Regions from separate parts of the Homo sapiens genome. Here regions 1 and 2 are each linked to region 3. Evidence: promoter capture Hi-C in 16 types of primary human blood cells and fetal thymus (Javierre and others, 2016). All regions are on one chromosome and are shown on one strand. The core of a region is centred on a gene start or on the middle of the fragment in contact, and the rest is flanking DNA. Distances in the headings are between cores, read along the strand shown. Region 1 has its middle 22 kb from the start of CTSB. Region 2 holds the start of DEFB134 (defensin beta 134). Region 3 holds the start of FAM167A-AS1 (FAM167A antisense RNA 1).

Region 1 (4,203 bases), core at 18-2,517, 520 kb after region 3:
TTTAAAACCCAAGTCAAATCATACACTCCTCTGCTCAAAGGCCACCAATCGCGCCCACACCATCAAAGTAAAAGCCCAGGCCCAGGAAGTAGAATGGGGGCTGTCAAGAGCTGGGGAAGGGGGAGCTAGTGTTTAATAGGTGTAGCGTTTCAGCTGGGGGATGAGAAAGTTCTGGAGATGGATGGTGGAGATGGTTGTGCAACAATGGGAATGCTATAAACGTGGGTGGGGAAGACTTCAGAGGAGGAAGTTTTATGGGGGAGAGCAGGAGCTCAGTTTGGGGCATGTCAAGAATGAGATGCCTTATTAAACATTCGAGCCAAGACACTGAACAGAGCTGAGTCTGGAGTTCACAGAGAGCCAAGCTGGGGACATGGATTTGCAATCAATCAGTGCACAGATGGCATCAGTTCCACGGGACTGAGAGTTCACCAGCGTAGCGAGAACAGCCAAAACCAAACCAAACCAAAACGTTCTCCACAGGTCCCAGGAGTGAGCCAGAGACTTTAAGCTGAAAGGTCAGCCATCCAAGGAGGGATCAGGAAGGGGAAGAGGAGGAACAGCAACGAGGGAGGGAGGACCGCCGGAAGGGTGAGCGCTATGCTCGTGGGCTCGGGCGGAGTGGCACCTCGGGAGCTTCCTACTATCAGGGTTTGTGCCTGCACGAATCTGTCTACAGCCACTGCTAAATCTGAGGGCCATTGGGAGGCAGTTCAGGGTTTGGAGTTGTGTGAGGAGACAAGGTTAGGGATGGGAATTGAGGAGCAGTGCAGGAGGGCCGGGCGTGTAGGGAGGTGCCCCATTGAAGGGAGTGGGAGTGTGTGGGTTGGGGAGCAGCTGTTCAGAGGGGTCCACTGTGGCCCCCAGACTCTGGGCTGATCCCCAGAGTAAAGAAGATGGACATATCCTCTAGGGACCTGCACTGTCCCCTCACACCCCCATAAGAATGGTCTGGGGCTGCTGATAGAAGGCTCCTCAGTCAACTGACTTGGGGACTGACAGGGTCTGATGGTGAGAGGCAAGGACAGGAAGGCCTGCAAAAACGAGGCCTGGTCTGTGGTATGGTCTAAATAGTGACTTCCCTCAAAGTCACACAGTGACGTCCTAAGCCCAACTACCTTAGAATGTGACTATATTTGGAGATAAGGTTTTGATTTTTGTTTTGTTTTAGAGACAGGATCTTGCTGTGTTGCCCAGGCTGGAGTGCAGTGGCATGATCATAGCTCACTGTAGCCTCTTCTACCTGGCTGAAGCGATCCTCCTGCCTCAGCCTCCTGAGTAGCTGGGACTACAGGCATGCGCCACCACACCCAGCTGTTTTTTTAAACAGTTTGTAGAGACAGAGCCTCACTATGTTGCCCTGCTGGTCTCAAACTCCTGGGCTCCAGCAATCTTTTCGCTCCCACCTCCCAAAGTGCTGGGATTACATTGTGAGCCACCACACCCAGTCTTTGGAGACACGGTCTTTAAAGAGGTAGTTAAGTTAAACGAGGCTGTTAGGGTGGGCTCTAATTCAATCTGATTGGTGTCCTTATAGGAGGAGGGAGAGACATGAAGGCTGCACATACACAGAAAAAAAAAAAAACCCAACAACATGTGGGGACACGGAGAAGGCATAGCCTGAGGAGAAACCAGCCATGCCAACACCTTGATCTCAGACTTCTAACCTCCAAAACTGTGAGAAAACGAACGCCTATTGTTAAGTTGCCCAGCCTGTGGTATTTTGTTACGGAAGCCTGAGCAAACTAACACAGCCTGGCATTTTTGCTCTGAAGTTTACAGGATTGATTGGAATTTATGGGAATAGATTTATAGTTGCACAACTCAATGCTATGCAGGGATTTTCTCCAGCGTGATTCCTTTGGTGAAACAGTGGCCCCCACTTCCTACTGTCTGCCCAAACCCAAGCCAGCGAAAGTGTCCATTCACCCATCCATTCAGTCATTTACTCATTCATTCAACAAATATTTATTGAAGACTTACTGTAAAGGTCTTATAAAAGGTGATGGAACCTTGTCCATATCAGGGTTAGACATGGCTAAGTTCTGGGGAATTAGAACATATTATTAATCTCCATAACAAATACAGCTTTTGATGACACACAGAAACGAATGAAATCGGACACAAAGTCCCAATCAGTTTTTGGAAATAATCCACAAAATAAATGGAAGTTTCAGTTCCATAAACAACTAAATTGGATCCAGATATCAGATAATTCCACATTATATTGAAAAAGAAGAAATCGGGCCAGGCATCAGCATGTTGGGAGGCTGAGGTGGGCAGATCACTTGAGGTCAGGAGTTCAAGACCAGCCTGGCCAACATGGTGAAACCTTGTCTCTACTAAAAATACAAAAATCAGCCAGGTGTGCTGGCACATGCCTGTAATCCCAGCTACTCAGGAGGCTGAGGCATGAGAATTGCTTGAACCTGGATGGCAGAGGTTGCAGTGGGCCGATTGTGCCACTGCACATGGTTTGGCTGTGTCTCCACCCAAATCTCATCTTGAATTGTAACTGCAAGAATTCCCATGTGTCGTGGGAGGAACCTGGTGGGCAGTGATTGAATAATGGGGGCAGGTCTGTCCTGCACTGTTCTTGAGATGGTGAATGAGTCTCATGAAGTCTGGTGGCTTTAGAAATGGGAGTTTCCCTGCACAAATTCTCTCTTCGCTTGTTTGCCCCCATGTGAGATGTGACTTTCACATTCCACCATGATTGTGAGGCCTCTCCAGCCATGTGGAACTTTAAGTCCAATAAACCTCTTTCTTTTGTAAATTGCCCAGTCTCTGATATGTCTTTATCAGCAGCATAAAAATGGACTAATACCATCTTGTATACTGTTTGGTTAATAAATGCCCTTCTGGGAGACAGGCCTCACAACATCCACAAAAGCTGGGCTGCTTTCTGGGGCAGAAAGAGCTTAATGAAGATTAATATCTTTGTGTTGAGTGAACTCTGAGATGGCTCCCTGTGGTCCCTGACTCCTGGTGTTCTCACCCTTGTGTAATGTCCCCAATTGTGTGCAGGCAGGACCTTCGATTTGGTTTTAACAAACAGAGAAGAGCAAAGATGATAGGATGTCACCTCTGTAAATATAAGATGACGACTTGTGTCTTGGTGGCAGACTCTCTCCTTTATAAGCTTTCATAAAGCAAGTTGCTTGATTGGGGAGGCCCACAAGGCAAGAAACACAGGGTGCCTTCTGGGAAAAAACACCTAGGAATCAAGGCCCTTTGTTCAACTGCCTAAAAGCAATTGAGTCATGTCAACGACCAAAAAGTGAGCTTGGAAGCAGATTCTCCCCAGTTGGGCCTTTCGATAAGACTCAACCTTGCCTGACACCTTGAGTGTGGTCTTGTGAGAGACCATAAAATGGAGGAACCAGCTGAGCTGTGTCCAGATTCCTGACCTACAGAAACTGTGAGAAAACGTGTGTGTGTGTGTGTGTGTGTGTGTGTGTGTGTGTGTGTGTGAGCCAGAATCTTGCTTTGTCACCCAGGCTGGAATGCAGTGGCATGATCATAGCTCACTGCATCCTTGAACTCCTGGGCTCAAGTGATCCTCCTGCCTTAGCCTTCTGAGTAGCTAGGATGGCAGGCACACATCACCATGACCAGCTAATTTAACAACTTTTATTTTTTGGTAGAGATGGTATCTCACTATGTTGCTGAGGCTGGTCTCAAACTGCTGGGCTCAAGTGATCCTCATACCTCAGCCTCCCAAAGTATTGGGATTACAAGTGTAAGCCACTTCACCCTGCCGATGTGTGTTGTTTTAGGTGCCAAATTTATGCTCCTTTGTCACTCAGCAGTAAATAGCTAAGACAATCCTAAACAAGGTTTTTGAGATGGTAGAATAAAGACTCTCTGGGGTCCAATTAGTATTGGCCTGAGGCAGATTCCCTGAACAGAAAAGGAAGTGACCAGTAAATCTGAGTCATCTGGGATGAGGCCCCTTGTTACTAAACCCTCAGATTCCTTCCTGATGAAATGAGAAGTTTGGATAGCTCTCCAAGATCCCCTCCCCTCCCCTCTCCTCTCCTCCCCTCCCCTCCTCTCCTCTCCTCTGTATTTTATTTTCTTTTGAGACAGAGTCTCACACTGTTGCCTAGACTGGAGTGCAATGGCGAGATCTCAGTTCACTGCAACCTCCACCTCCTGGGTTCATGCAATTCTCCTGCCTCATCCTCTCGAGTAGCTGTG
Region 2 (4,280 bases), core at 436-2,935, 630 kb after region 3:
CAAGGCAGGAACCTATCATTTCTACCTTAGGTTCCTACCTTGGTCTCAAGTGAGCCCCAGCTGGAAGTTCATACTAAAATTGACACAAGGGGTGCCTGGTCATATCATGTCCAATTTCTTAGCAACCAGCCAGTGAGGGCGTGGGTTCATGAAAAGCAGGTATGGGAGTATAAAGGTCATAAACAGTATAAAGAATTACTGGCTGAGGCTCCCAAAGAAGCCAGCAATCACTCTGAGAAAAAAAGACCTGGAAACCTCAACCTCAGAGAGGACATGCTCAGTGGGATACTGGCATTGCCCATGCAAAGAAAGTGTTGAATATGACTCAAGGAGAAATAATAAAGCAATATACTTTTATCTATGTTGATAAACAGCTGGAAGAGGCTTTAACCCAAGCAAAAATAATGTTGCTTACAAAGCCAAAGTTAAAAAACCCCAAGACCATTACAGTGCCAAATTCTTTTCCCCAGAACGGACTATTACTATCATTCTCCCACTATTGATAAGGAGCTCGTTCACTGACTAGGTCACCAACTACCAGCAATTCGTGATTTTACTTAAATATCAGAACAGGACAGCCTCTGAGTTTTGCTCTAAAAGGTAAAGAAGAATTTCAGCAACTGTCAGAGATCGTCTCTTGTTATCTAGACCTCCCCTGGCTCAGCGTCTGGTTCACTGTAGGTGCCACGAGTTGGGAGCTGACCTAGTTCATAGACTTTAGAGATAAAGAGGGGAGATGTGCGCATCATTTGAAAACAAGTATGTGGCTTACCAGCACACCAGCTTTTTCTTTTCATCCATATATTCCCCTAAGGCCACATGGTGCTCTGGGATTAGAAAATGGAGAAGTACAATATGCTCCACGCTAGGACTAGATGGCTCTTTCTTCTGCCTCCTGGGTTTGGTATTTCTTTAGGGTCATCATGCTACTCTTCTCATCTTCCTGATCTGTGGTTGTTCTGCAACTGCCATACTCTCAGCTGCAATTGAAATGTCCCTGTCTGACCCTGAGCCATACAGATTCAATATGCAGCCTTTCCAAATGACAATCCTAATAAACAGAAATGTATTCTAGCCAACAGTGGGAGATGCAGAAGGAAGCAGCTTCTGTATCCTCTGTGAAGAGATGGTCCTCTTTCCCATTACAAATTTTACAGCACCCATTCCTTTTTTTTTCATAGCACTTGTCACAATTGTTACTATATCAATTATTTGTGTCTCTGATTAGACTGTGAAATCCGAGTAGATTCCATGACTGTCTTATTTATCATTTTACACCAGTATTGGGCTGAAAGTCTAGCAGGCCATCAGTGCCAAAGGTATATTTGTTGAATAAATAAATGAACTCTAGATATTAGGTTTATACTTTAACTTTACAATATATAGTAGTTATTCCTTATTCATGGGGCTATGTTCCAAGACCCCCAGTAGATGCTTGAAACAGTCGATAATACTGAACTCTATATATACAGTGCTTTTTTTCTATACATGCAGACCTATGATAAAGTTAAATTTATAAATTTGGCACAGTAAGATTTTAATAACAATAACTAATAATAAAACAATTATAACAATATGCTATCATAACAATACTATAAAAGTTATGTGAATGTGAACTCTGTCTCCCCCAAAATATCTTACTGTGCTATGCTCACTCTTCTTCTTGTGCTGATGTAAGATGATATAATGCCTATGTGATGAGAGGAAGTGAGGAAAACGACATAGGCATTGTGACATAGCATTAGGCTATTGCTAATCTTCTGACCATAGCTCAGAAGGGGGATCATCTCCTTCGGGTGATGCTGGGTCACTGAGCCATGGTGATGTTAGTGGCTGGATCTCAGAAGCATATGATTTCAATAACTAATGGGCAGGTAGTGTTTACAGTGTGGATACACTGGACAAAGGGATGATTCACATTCTGGGTGTGTGGAGCTGCGTAGTGCAAGATTTTGTGTTACTCAGAACAGCATGCAATTTAAAACTTATGAATTGTTTATTTATGGAATTTTGTGTTTATTTATTTATTTATTTTGAGATGGAGGCTTGCTCTGTCACCCAGGCTGGAGTGCAGTGGCGTGATCTTGGCTCACTGCAACCTCTGCCTCCCAGGTTCAAGTGATTCTCCTGCCTCAGCCTCCTGAGTAGCTGAGATTACAGGCACCTGCCACCACACCTGGCTGATTTTAGTATTTTTAGTAGAGACGGGGTTTCACCATGTTGGCCAGGCTGGTCTCGAACCCCTGCCCTCAGGTGATCCACCCACCTTGGTCTCCCAAAGCGCTGGGATTACAGGCATGAGCCACTGCACCCAGCGTATTTAATATTTTGGACTGTGGTTGACTGTAAGTAACTAGAACTGTGGCTGGGTGGGGAACTACTGCAGATATATTCCTAACAGCTGGTATTTGGAGCACTTTTAGGCATCAAGGATTGTAGTATGTATTTTTTTTAATATTGCCTCACTTAATCTTACAAATGATCTCTTAACTAGACATTTTCACAATTCACATTTTCAAGATGTTGAAGCAGAGATTTGAGTAATTCTTCTAAAATCACACATCTGGGACTGATAAGTCTTACAGAGATTCTAGAACCCAAATTAATTAACCACTCTTCTATATTGTCTCCTGGGACAAAGGGGTTCTGAAATATAGCAAAAATTCTACTTTGAATCTAGTCTGGGCCAGCCAGGAAGAATTAGTAGATGCCAGGGCCTGGGGAGCTAGAACCTATGGTAAGGAAGTGACACTGAAAAAGCTAAAGAATCTTTCTTTCTTTCTCTCTCTCTTTCTTTTTCTTTCTTTCTTTCTCTCTCTCTTTCTTTTTCTTTCTCTTTCTTTCTTTCTTTCTTTCTTTCTTTCTTTCTTTCTTTCTTTCTTTCTTTCTTTCTTTCTCTCTCTCTCTCTCTTTCTTTTCTTTCTTTCTTTTCTTTCACAGACGTCTTGGGACGCAAAGGGCCAAGGCATCAGAAACACTTGGTACCAGCTTCCACAGCAACAATGAGAGGTAACCCCAGTGCTTCCACTACCAACAGGACATTACCACTTGCAGGCAGAGAAACAGACAAGAAAAATAGTGGATGCCACATATTAGGACTCGTCTGAGACATGATGCAAGACTTTTTAGAAAGAATTTGAGGTGAGATGAGGCTGGGCTCTCTGAAGTAGTTCAAGAGAAATACTATTTTGTGGCCCTTATTGGGACTTACTTATAACCTAAGGACCTAGGATGATGCTTGAGTAGCAGGACCAACCAATGTACCAAAGAATGGGCCTCACCCAAAGAGCTTTACAAATTTTATTAAAAATAAGAATGAGACAGAACTCAGCAGTTGTACCTAGATTAGTGACAGAAGATCAGATGAGAATGAAGATGTTTTAGTAGGTTAACATAATAAACGCTCTCCGAGATACCTCATCACTGCTTACCTCTTTTGGAACTTAAAAATAACTTGGAGAAGATATGATCAACTATGAATTGACTAAGTTTCAGTTTCTGTGACCAGGCAAAATAAGGTTCCTAATAGGAATTCAGTTAATTTATAGAAAAAGAAAATTATACTTTTGTAAATATGCCTAGTAGACTGACATATCCCTTACATGACTAAAACCCTATTATGCCAAAACATCTCTTTATTGAATCTCCCCACATTCCCAACCTACTTTCTCTTCTTGCCTCTCTAGTTTAGTGAGTTATATTGGCATCCATCTTTTTATCAGCTTTGAAATCTCAGAATCATCATTCATGGCTTCTCAATATATCATATGGCCAATAAATCCTGCCAATCCTAATTCTAAAATTCACCTTGTATCTCTTCTTTCTTTTTAGTTCTCACTACTAGTGATCAAGTCCTAGATTACTGGAATAGAATAATGTTGCATCAATAGATTGTGTTTATATAAAATTATATATCTGATAACCTGAAAAATATACCTTATTTTCAAAACCACCTAACATTTTAACAAACATGAACTCTTAGGCAACACAGAATAATTATATAAAACCCCAAAGGAATAGGATGGATCAAATTCTTGGGTTCCATGAAACTATAGCTAACATTTATATAATGTCTATAATAGGGTCAAGCGCTGTTTAAGAACTTCACATATACTAACTCACATAATCCTAACAGTACCACAGTGTAGGTACCTATTGCTATCCCATTTTATAAATAAGGAAGCTGAGATAGACAGAAAAGAAATAATTTGCCCAAGCTTGAACAGTTAATAAGTGGTAGGGCTGGGATATAGTACTATGGGTGAAACAGCAATGTGGCT
Region 3 (4,113 bases), core at 667-3,166:
TTAAGTGCCAGGTGCCACTGGTTATTTGAATCCAGCTGAGGCCCACTAGTCAGACCAGTTTAGACCAATGCAGTTTTCTAAAGAGCACTTTCTTGTTGCATCTTTTTTTTTTAAGATATTCCTGGGTTGAGCTTTCAGAAGGGCTACTCTAAACCCTCTGATGCAATTACCGTATAGATACATACAGGTTAACTTTTTAAGTTGAAGTTAGGCCAAATCAATTTCTGATTGTATTTTATGGTAAGGGAATGAGTGTGTTCAGAAAATGCTTTCAATCCGGTCATTTAAAAAAATATTTCTGGTGCAATACTGTATAGACACGTACAGGTTAACTTTTTTCCAGCGACCTCGGAATGTACTGCATGTAAAATCACTAGGAAGTGAAACTTCCAGTTCCACAGATTAATCATGGATATATTTGATAACAGCTATCAAGGATTAAAAGGCGTTTATTTATGTTGCATGCTTAATAACAAAATGTTATGCATTTGGAGTTTTGAACTGTTAGGTCAAAGCGTGGATTTTTTTGAAGGCATAACTGGATTTAAAATCTATTTGACTATTAACTGGAGAACTTTTAGGTAATTGAATTGTTTAACAGTTACATTACTGTAGCTTTTTCCTCCACTTAATAAGGTTTATGTTTGTAGATTTTATTTTTTTGTTATTTTTCTTTTGGGCTGCTCTTGAGAGGCAGGAAGATTTTATTTTTTAAAATCAGAAAGTTAGTAATGAATTCTTTTTTTGAAAGTTTGAGATATAGTTTACATACCATAAAATTCACTCATTTATAGTTCTGTGGTTTTCAATGTATTAAAAAGTTTTGCAACCATCACTATAATCTAATTTTAGGCCATTTCATCACCCCACAAAGAAATCATATTATATAAGCCCTTCCCACCCTCGGCAACCACTAATGTACTTCTTCTGTCCCTGGGTTTGTCTGTTCTGAGCATTTTATGTAAGTGGAATGTGGTTGTCTTTTAGTGGCTTCTTTAATTAAGCAGTCCATTTTCAAGGTTCATCCATGTTTTAGCATGTATCACTACTTCATTTTTTATTGCTAAGTAATATTCCATTGTATGAGTAATCCTCTTATTTTCTCTATCCATTCATCCATTGAGGGACATTTAGGTTTTTTGCACTTTTTAAGCTATTATGAATAATGCTGCTGTGAACATTTGGGTAGATAATTGAGTTTTAAAATGATTGCTTACTGTTTATAGTTTAAAAAACAGTTCTTAAGTTTGATTAATTTATTCTCAGTTATCTTAAAGGAACAAGCAATTCTTCCCTTTCATAAGATAAGAAGCAGCAACTCGAGTGACCTTTGTCTCCTAGACCCTAACCTTCCAGCATTTCTACCAGGCTCCTAGAATGACCTTTAATTCGGATCATTTGGAGGGGTTTGTTCCAAACAGGTTCCTTGAATCTTTCCCAATCTGTAAACACACCTCCAGGAGATCTCAAATAAGAGTGAAAAAATAATGAATGCTTCAGCTTCTTTGGATGATTCTTATTCACTGACATCTTTGTACTCCAAGACTAGAATTAGAGTTGTCCCTTCTGTCTGAACACTCAGTATCTGGTGCACATCTTGGGATCCCGGAGCCCATCAATGTTTTCCTGTAAAATGCTTTCCGTTCTGTTGGGAGAAAGGGTTTTTTATGATTAATTTGGAAATAACCCAAAAAGCTATTTGAAGGAAAAGTGGGTTTAACCACAAAAATAGTTTATTTATAAATAAAAAAGAAAGAATACAAAGATTGGCTTTGTTCTGATGTTTTACACAGGCTACCGGTGGTTATTAGTTTTCTGCTCACATGTTTGTGTGTGGCGTTGCTGGGATGTGCCTTGTGTTGCTACACAAACAGCGATCCCGAAGTCTGCCAGCAAGATAGATGGCCTGGAGTCCAGAACAGACTGGATTAGTGAAAGCTACTGCAGTGCTTTGGACACTTACTATGGTAGGTGGGAGATATTTAGTATTTTTTAATTCACATAGGCCAAATCACCAATTTGTGATTGTATTTTATGGTAAGGGTGTTCAGAAAATGCTTTAAATTCTGTCATTTTAAAAAAATGTTTATTAAGAGTTCAGACAATTTAAAAGATATATAATAAAGTTGTCTTCCCCTCCAAACCCAATCAATAACATGTTAGCAGTGTAGTGTGGGACCCAGTGCAGTGGCTCACACCTGTAATCAGTACTTTAGGAGGCTGAGGCAGGAGGATTGCTTAAAGCCAGGAGTTCAAGACCAGCCTGGACAACATAGCAAGACTCTCATCTCTACAAAAATAATTTAAGCCAGATGTGGTGATGCACACCTGTAGCTGCTACTCACGTGGCTGAAGCTGAGGGATCACTTGTAGCCAGGAGTTTGAGGCTGCAATGAGCTATGCTTGCGCCACCATACTCCAGCCTGAGCCACAGAGCGAGACCATCTCAAACAACAACACACAAAAAAACTAGTGTATACCTTTTATTTTCTCCTGTGCTTATACAATCTAGGAGTGGAAGGTGAAACCTTTTTCTTTTCTTTTACTATAAAAGTAGTGCTAAGACAATATTGTCAAAAGTTTTGGAAAAGACTCACTTTCAATTTTTGCCATGTCACATGGTAGCTGTTTTAAAATATTCTCCAGTCCTCTATGCGTTACAAAGAACTTACATGTAGTTTTAACATTTGCCATTTAAAGATAGCTGCATAACTCGTTGAATGGAGTATCATAATGATGTCATTCTATTTAATTGCTGAAACCTAGAAGTACAATTACTGGGTCACAGGGCGTAAACACCTACTTGCCTCTTCATTTTATGTGGTCAAATTTATCTTCGGAACGAGTTGGATTAATTTGTGATGAAATTCTCGACCATCAACACCTTCCTCTTGGCACATATTCATGGACCTCAGTATGGTTTACATTTGTTGAAAAGTTTTATTTTTGTGGCTGGGTGCAATGACTCATACTTGTAATCCCAGCACTTTTGGGAGGCTGAGGCAACAGGATCAGTTGAAAGTTTTATTTTTCTAAAAGGTTTGAAGAATATAAACTTCATTTTTTGCTGGAGAATCTTAACATTCTAATACAAGAGCCGTGAGTGAATAAATCCTAGATCTCACATAACCGGATGATAACTGCCTCTAAATCAGTGAATTGCTTCCAAAAATCACCGGTGAGAAAGGAATCTTGTTTTTTAATGATTTTTTTTTAGGGTAGTCACTTTAAAAAAAATTATTTCATGGCACTGTTTTTATAGCTTTAGTATGTTTGTCTATAAGGTAGCTAAACAGGCCACCCCTTACCTTCCAATGTGAAGATCCCAGAAAACTTTTTTTTAGCCAACTTACATATATAAAGTTTAGGATTGTAGATGAGAGGATAAAATAGACACCTGTACTATTAGTTGCAGGTGTTTCAGATTTGTTAATCTATTAACCAGCATGTGGGCTTTCCCTCTTCACATTCGCATTTCAGGCATGTCACTCCGACTTCGTATTTGATCTTGGTGCCCCCTTTGGCATCCCCTAATAGGTTAAGAGCAGATGATCTTTTTTCTTTCTAAGTTGTTTGGGATGCAGCAGTTTCGGGGTCTATGTATGATGCTGTTGGTGGACATTTATCCCAAGCCACAAGTATGCCTGTGTGTAGGTAGCACTAGGGCAGCTGCTTTTCAGAATCCACAGAGCATTGCTTTCGATTTTTAACAGGCTTCTTTCCAGTGACACCAAATACTTGTAACTGTAGCTTTATAATCCTAGAGACCGTGACTGTTAATGTGCCTCCTTTACAACTTATCCTACCAGCCACAATATTAGCATTGCTTAAGGTTGTTTGAGGCTAATAATGTTTCCACAGAACAATAACTTGTATTCTTTTCAGGTTACCGACAGCATTTAGTATATCCTGAAAGAGTGTAATGTTTCAAATATAAGGTGAGCATCCCTAAGGGGATAGTTTCGGGAGATAACTCTGCCTTATTTTGGGAGTATATGTGATACCTTGTCTGTTGATCCATTTGTCTGAAGTCCTTAAGAAAAGCTTTTCTCTTTTGTTAAAAGGTCAAAAATTTAAAAATTATTTTGCCCAGTTCTTTCTTTACGCTGTAAG

Evidence for each region. Contacts are between HindIII fragments. The CHiCAGO score rates a contact against its expected background, and 5 or more counts as called.
Region 1: a contact is called between a fragment that was not itself captured here and the fragment with the promoter of FAM167A-AS1 in region 3, in 2 of 17 cell types (naive B cells and total B cells). The highest score is 7.3, in naive B cells.
Region 2: the fragment with the promoter of DEFB134 here is called in contact with the fragment with the promoter of FAM167A-AS1 in region 3 in 4 of 17 cell types (total B cells, naive B cells, M2 macrophages and 1 more); the score reaches 8.3 in total B cells.

Annotation. Positions count from the first base shown.
Region 1 is chr8:11,887,811-11,892,013 of GRCh38, forward strand. No RefSeq gene overlaps it. Among named protein-coding and RNA genes, the nearest start is that of CTSB, 22 kb to the left of the region's middle. RefSeq lists a silencer at 3,315-3,498. The HindIII fragment of the contact is 3,746 bases long and covers 1-3,140 here.
Region 2 is chr8:11,999,067-12,003,346 of GRCh38, forward strand. DEFB134 (defensin beta 134) reads right to left here and starts at 1,686. Exons shown (of 3, transcript NM_001302695.2): 1 at 1,642-1,686. It overlaps LOC105379245 (a long non-coding RNA gene), which reads left to right and starts at 3,067. Exons shown (of 3, transcript XR_001745644.2): 1 at 3,067-3,141. It also overlaps the pseudogene OR7E160P and the pseudogene LOC100421446. The HindIII fragment of the contact is 7,293 bases long and covers 1-4,215 here.
Region 3 is chr8:11,366,486-11,370,598 of GRCh38, forward strand. FAM167A-AS1 (FAM167A antisense RNA 1) reads left to right here and starts at 1,917. Exons shown (of 7, transcript NR_026814.1): 1 at 1,917-1,967. It also overlaps the pseudogene TDH. The HindIII fragment of the contact is 6,691 bases long and covers 1-4,042 here.